Regions from separate parts of the Homo sapiens genome. Here region 1 is linked to region 2. Evidence: promoter capture Hi-C in 16 types of primary human blood cells and fetal thymus (Javierre and others, 2016). All regions are on one chromosome and are shown on one strand. The core of a region is centred on a gene start or on the middle of the fragment in contact, and the rest is flanking DNA. Distances in the headings are between cores, read along the strand shown. Region 1 has its middle 40 kb from the start of LINC01548. Region 2 holds the start of OLIG2 (oligodendrocyte transcription factor 2).

Evidence for each region. The method cuts DNA at HindIII sites, captures the fragments that hold promoters and counts their contacts. A CHiCAGO score of 5 or more calls a contact.
Region 1: a fragment that was not itself captured here is called in contact with the fragment with the promoter of OLIG2 in region 2 in 3 of 17 cell types (M0 macrophages, M1 macrophages and megakaryocytes); the score reaches 7.3 in M0 macrophages.

Annotation. Positions count from the first base shown.
Region 1 is chr21:33,128,478-33,131,660 of GRCh38, reverse strand. No RefSeq gene overlaps it. Among named protein-coding and RNA genes, the nearest start is that of LINC01548, 40 kb to the left of the region's middle. The HindIII fragment of the contact is 4,086 bases long and covers 1-3,183 here.
Region 2 is chr21:33,024,651-33,027,950 of GRCh38, reverse strand. OLIG2 (oligodendrocyte transcription factor 2) reads right to left here and starts at 2,016. Exons shown (of 2, transcript NM_005806.4): 1 at 1,925-2,016; 2 at 1-1,150. The coding sequence starts at 1,088. The coding sequence ends at 117. RefSeq lists an enhancer at 1,285-2,187. The HindIII fragment of the contact is 3,945 bases long and covers 656-3,300 here.

The sequences.
Region 1 (3,183 bases), core at 574-3,073, 100 kb before region 2:
AACTGTGCCCCAAGGGTGCAGAGAAGGTGGGGAGTGTGTTCCAGGAGAGGGGGCCACCGGAACAATGGTGTGCAGATGGAAACTGGTCCAGCTACTAAACTGAGAGGGACAAAAAGAACAATAGCGTTGACAGGGATACGTGGCAAGACAAGCCTATTTCACCTGGACTTTCCTGCTGAACTCCAGACCTTATGAAAGCTCTGATAACAGCTGGGACATCTGGTCGTGCAATCCGTGGTGAGGAAGGAGAATCCAGGCATTCTTTTAGCCCAGTAGTGAATTCGAGCGATGCCAGAGGGGAGTCATCTTGGCAGTGTGATACTCCCAGGGAGTAGGAGTAGGAGGATGTGGCGTGGCGGGGGCTGTGAGAGTGCCTGTGCAGGCTGCGAGGGGTGCCAGGGTGGCACTGTATACACACTGAAGGACAGGTCCAATAACCAATACGGGGTGTCTGTAGATTCTGAATGCATAGAAAACAACATTATGATTATTACTTTACAGACTGGAGATGGCTTTAATAATATTATATATATTTAACTGTTTCTGGACCTTATGAACATCATGTATGTTAAGGTCGATGAGGGAACCAGGTTTCTCATCAATGAAGAAGGGAGTTACACATGTGGAAGGGAAAAATCCTAGAATAAGCCCTTTGGTGTTGGACTGGAATTGGAAGTGTCAGTGTCAACTCGTATATAAATGTAGCCTAGTTCCGTTCACTGGGAGGGCCTGGGAACAGTGCCACCCGGGAGCAGACAATACATCAGTGCTCAGATCTTGGTTCCTAAAGTCCCCACTTAAAGGAACCCAAACTCCTTGGAGAAATGGTCAATTCCAAGGCTGGATGAGGAGTCAGGGAAAGTACAAGATGAAGCTAGAACGTCTTGTGCCAGGAAGTAAAGAAGGGCTCAAAGAATTATAGGCACATGTCCGGAGAACCCAGAAGCCAGAGTGAAGGAGCTCCTACCGGCCAGAACTGGGATAATTGAGGCATAAAAATGAATAACGATAGGAGCAGAGTATCACCTGATAAGTAAAATAAGTACGCTTGAGTTCCTACCGATATAAACAAACAGATGAATGTATAAGTGGAAAAAGCAGAATTCTAACTAATATGGCGGGGCACAGTGGCTCACAACTGAATCCCAACACTTTGGGAGGCTGAGGTGGGAGGGTTGCTTGAGCCTAGGAGTTTGAGACCAGGCTGGGCAACATAGTGAGACCCTATCTCTACACAAAAATTACTAATTCCAACTAATAAATATTAGGAAAGTGATGGAATTAGAAAATCATTTATTGGCAACCATCATAATCATCCAACGAAGAAACACTGGTGGATATTAAAAACAGTGAGTGAAGTCTGATGAGGAATGGGATATTTGCAAAGGCTCACGTACCTCCCCACAAGATCCTTGTATGTTACAAAGGGGGAAAAAAGTAACTTTACAGCGGAGGCACATGGACAACATCACCTTCATTATTTCGTTTACATGTAAGTCACCAGGACTGGGGTAAATTAAAATTGTGTGCCACTTGGCCAGATACAAGATGAACCCAGCATCACTTCTATGATGATGTTTCTGCCAAAGACATCCCTGACCCTCATAATAAGGCATCACCTGAAAAACCTACACTAAGGAACATCTACGGAATAATTGGCCTATTATTGTCAAAAGTGTCAAGGTCATGAGAGATAGAAACTGTTCTAGATTGAAGGAGACTAAAGAGATGGGACAACTCTGTGTGATGAGCAATCCTGGATTGGGTCCCTTGCCTATAAAAGTTTAGTGAGATTGAAACAACTAGAGAAGTGTGGATGGCATTTGAGAATGAGATGATAGTATGTACCGATGTTAATTTCTTCATTTTGGTGGTTGTATTTAGATCATGAAAGTGGGTGACTTTCACAATCATAGGAGATACACATTAAAGTATTTTAGGGTGATGGGCATCATGTCAGCAACTTATTACTCAAGTGAATTAGGAAAAACAGGTCTTTGCATTATTCTTGCAACATTTCTAAAATTTTAAAATTATTTAGAAATCAAAAGGGAGGCCGGGCACGGTGGCTTACACTTGTAATCCCAGCACTTTGGGAGGCTGAGGCGGGCGGATCATGAGGTCAAGAGATCGAGATGAGCCTGGCCAACATGGTGAAACCCCGTCTCTACTAAAAATACAAAAATTAGCTGGGCGTGGTGGGATGTGCCTGTAGTCCCAGCTACTCAGGAGGCTAAGGCAGGAGAATCTCTTGAACCCGGGAGGCAGAGGTTGCAGTGAGCCGAGATCACACCACTGCACTCCAGCCCGGGCGACAGAGTGAGACTCCATCTCAAAAATAATAATAATAATAATAATAATAATAATAATAAAATAAATAAGAAAAATAAAAAAGAAAAAGGGAAATTATTTTGTAAAAATCTACAAGTTAACATGTAACATCAGAATCTGGGCCCAATAATGAATGGGTCAAGCAAAGGCATATCCCCTGGGGAATGTGATGACCCTGAGTGCTCCAGGCTGGCACTGAAGGGCAGTCCTCCCTTGCTTTATTTCCAAGTGTCAGGCATGTTTTTATAACAGGGTAGAGTTGTCTCTTCTTTTCACATGGATGACCAGATGGTGCTCCCCGAGAGTCGAGAGCTGAGGTTATGTCCATACCTACTGGGGTAGCGGGAACAAGTTGCCTAGAAAAGCCACTGAGAGATCTCTATCTACCTGCAGACTCTGTGTATAGTGAAGACTCGGTATGTCCCCCAAAGTTGAAGAAAAGGCAATGGGTATATTCTGTGGGGTGCAATGTGTCTTACTGGGCAATAGCAACATGGATTATGAACAATAGCTCCCACCTCACCCAGGACACTCGACTCACTGCCATGGGGATTCTACATTTGTTTGGAGAAGTAGAGGTGCAGCTGGAAGAAGAGGAAGTGGGAGCATTATAAAGAGGGTTATAAAAGGTTTTTTGAGCAAGGCAGAGGAAATGAGACTTGATGGAGCAGGCACGGAAAGTCATTGCTGATTCCTGAATAGGGTTCAATATATTGACAATGGCATTGAAAGGGATTAAGAAGCCTGACCCTGAGCAGTCTGCTAGGCTAACCCTTATTTTCCAAGGGAGAGGGGGTGGGCATTGTCAAATTCTCTTGATTAAACAAGTTGATTCAGAATGAATGAATTAAC
Region 2 (3,300 bases), core at 767-3,266:
GTCCATGGTCCTGCGCCCCTCCTCGCGACAGAGCTCCCGAGCCCAGCGCAGGCCAGTCCTCGCTTCCCCGCGGCCCCTGGCTCCCCTGTCGCCAGAACGCGCCGGCGCCAGTCGGCTCACTTGGCGTCGGAGGTGAGGCGCGGCAGGCTGCCGGCGCCCATAGCCGACACGTGGTGGTGCGGCGGCGGCACCTGGCACATGCTGCAGGGGCAGGGCATGCCGCCCCAGTGCTGGAAGCCCCCGCTCGCCCCACTGCCGCCGCCCCCGCCCCCCAGCGGGGCGGCCGCGGCAGCAGACGGAGACTTGAGTAGGCCGTGCGGTGGACGGATGGAGCCGACCGACGGCAGCCCGGATCCGGGCAGAGAGGCGCTGGACACAGCCGCGGCTGCAGCGGCGGCAGCAGCCGCTGCGGCGGCGGGCGGCAGGATGGGGTGGTGCACCGCGGGGTGATGTGCGGCGTGCGCTGCTGCTGCCGGGTGCGCGGTGGCGGCGGGCAGGGGCGCGGAGTGCGCCAGGCCGCCGCAGGCCGACGGGTGGAAGCCAGCGTGGTGGCCCCCGTAGATCTCGCTCACCAGTCGCTTCATCTCCTCCAGCGAGTTGGTGAGCATGAGGATGTAGTTGCGCGCCAGCAGCAGCGTGGCGATCTTGGAAAGCTTGCGCACCGAAGGGCCGTGTGCGTACGGCATGACCTCGCGGAGGCCATCCATGGCGATGTTGAGGTCGTGCATGCGCTTGCGCTCGCGGCTGTTGATCTTGAGACGCAGCTGCTGCAGCTCCGGCTCTGTCATTTGCTTCTTGTCCTTCTTGGTGGACGACGCAGCCGCCGACGACGTAGACGACGAGGTGCTGGACGAGGATGACTTGAAGCCACTGCCTCCTAGCTTGTCCCCAGGATGCGCGCCCGCAGAGCCCATAGCGCCGCGCAGCTCGGCGCTCAGCTCCGGCGGGCAGTCACTCGGGGTGGACGAGGACACGGTGCCCCCAGTGAAGGCGCTGCCGCTGCTGCCCTTACTCCGGGCCGGCAGAAAAAGGTCATCGGGCTCTGGCGACGACGGGCGGCTGGACACCAGGCTGGCGTCCGAGTCCATGGCCCCAGGGGAAGATAGTCGTCGCAGCTTTCGCAGGGTCCTCCTTCCCTCGGACCCGAAAACTTCCAGGAGAGGAGGAGAAAAGAGAGAGAATGAGAGAGAGAGAGAGGGAGAGAGAGAGAGAGTGAGTCAGTGAGAGACAGAAAAGCTGCTCCCGCCTGCACCGCAGTACCACAGCGCGGGGTCCCGGCACAGGTGGCCCGTGGCTCCTCGTCCCCCTCGCTACTATCTCTGGCCCTCCTTTTAGCTGCACGCGGGTACCTATAATTAAGCTCTCTCTATCTCCCCTCTGCTCTCATGCAACAGGTTATTTCAGGGAGCGTTGGTGACCCTCGGGGTGCGGGTGGCATTCTAGAGGCTTCGGGCTTTCAGTTAGGTGTGGGAAAACTGAGCCCCCGGGCTGGAATAAACGAGTGGGAAGTGAGGGCCTTTCTTTGGGGAGAATGGAGATCTAGATAGAGAACTAATGATTTGGTTCCTCAAACGGATCCACCTTATCTCCATCGACACCACGCAGCAAACACACGCACACGCACATGCACCCAGAGCCGGCGCGGGGCCCAGAGTCCATGTGCTGCATCTGGAGACCACGGGGAGCTCACCAGCTGACTGGGGCTTGGGCAGAAAGAGCTGTTGTCGCTCCGACTTCTCGCTTTTGGTGAGGGAGATGCAGCGGTGAGTGTGGGGAGGACAGAAGAGCAAAGTCGCTCTGGAGAAATGGCCCGCAGAGTAGGGATCCAGACCCCCTGTATCGGAGCATTCTGGGTCACAGCCGAGTTGAGGAGAGTCTGTCCCTGGGATCTAGGCTGCGGCTGCTGTGGGGCGGGGACACTTACTCTGGATGCGATTTGAGGAGCTCGCTCCGAAAAGCCTCAGGGGAGAACCTGGCACCGGGCGCTGGTGTCGCGTCGATCTATAATAAGCATCCGCACCTTTAGGGGCTCGGCCGGTTTTTATAGCCCGGTGGCAGCGGCGACGGCGGCAGCGGTGGCGGGGGCGGGGGCGGGGAACAATGTGCGTGTCCTGGAGGGGCTGCCTCGCCAATGAGCTGGGCCCGCCGGGGGGCTGGGAAGCTGATGTCATCCGGGCTAATTCCGCTCAATGAAACTCGCCAGGCCGGGCACACGCCTCCTCCCTGCGCACAACCAATGGGCGCCCGTGGCCGGGAGATTCTTGGGGAGGGACTGGAGGAGGGACCCGAGGAGGCGAGGGGGAGGAGAAGGGCGGCTCAAGGGGGATGGAGGGAGGGCTGAGCGCGCTTGGGACCAAGGGAGAAAGGGAACGTGGTCAAATTTCTGTAAAAAATACGGCCACCACAGAGTCAGGTTGGGGGATGGGATGGTTTGGAGACTCTGCAGAGTCTAACAAACTAACCTGATGCCCCACGCAGCCGCACCTTTTGGGATGCGCGCGGAAAACCCTGGCGACCCAGGATCCGGGGCTGGGGTCTCCTCCCTAGCTCTTCCTCTGTCTGGTTTCCCGCCGCCTGTTCCCATCTCACTGGTTTCATCAACACGTGGGCATTTGGCGCCCCAAATGTAAACGATGCCCAGGCACAAAGTCCCCACTATCTTGGTGCTCTACTCGCGCGTCTAGGAGATGGCCGTGGCTGCAGCTCCGACGGCAGCCGGTAGCGCCCCCAGCTGGGGGCAGGGACTTGAGGGGTAGAGGGCGGGCAAGGAGGGAGGGGACGGACTCCAGAAGAGTGTTTTGAAAGAATTCACAACTCTCCTTTAGGTTGAGGATGGTGTGGGTACAGGGACGAGTTATTTCCGCACGGTAACCGCGCTAGCACAAGGGCAGGGTCGTGCCTGTAGTTAAACACCCCTCCATTTATTAGCAGGGGAGCCGGATGATAGTAAGTATTTTCAGTGTCGTCTTTGTGATCACCACACGCCTTGGGGCAGGGGCAACGCTGGCATCTGTAGTCCAAGCAGGGCTCCGCTGTAAAAGGTTAGCAAAGAGCCTTCCGTCCCAGTCGCCTGCTTTCTGGAACTGCAAAGAGAAGTTTCAGGCCTGGGCAAGGCTTCTCCACGCTGTGGGCCAGACAGCGAGATGGAACCACTCGCGACCGCGTTGGGACATGTTTTACCGATTGCAGGCTGGCTCTGAAACCTGAAAACTCTTGACGATGAGGAATTAAGCCCGAACTGGAGAAGCACCTCACGGAGGTAGCTGAGGTACGGATGCATTCACCCATTTTACAGATGGG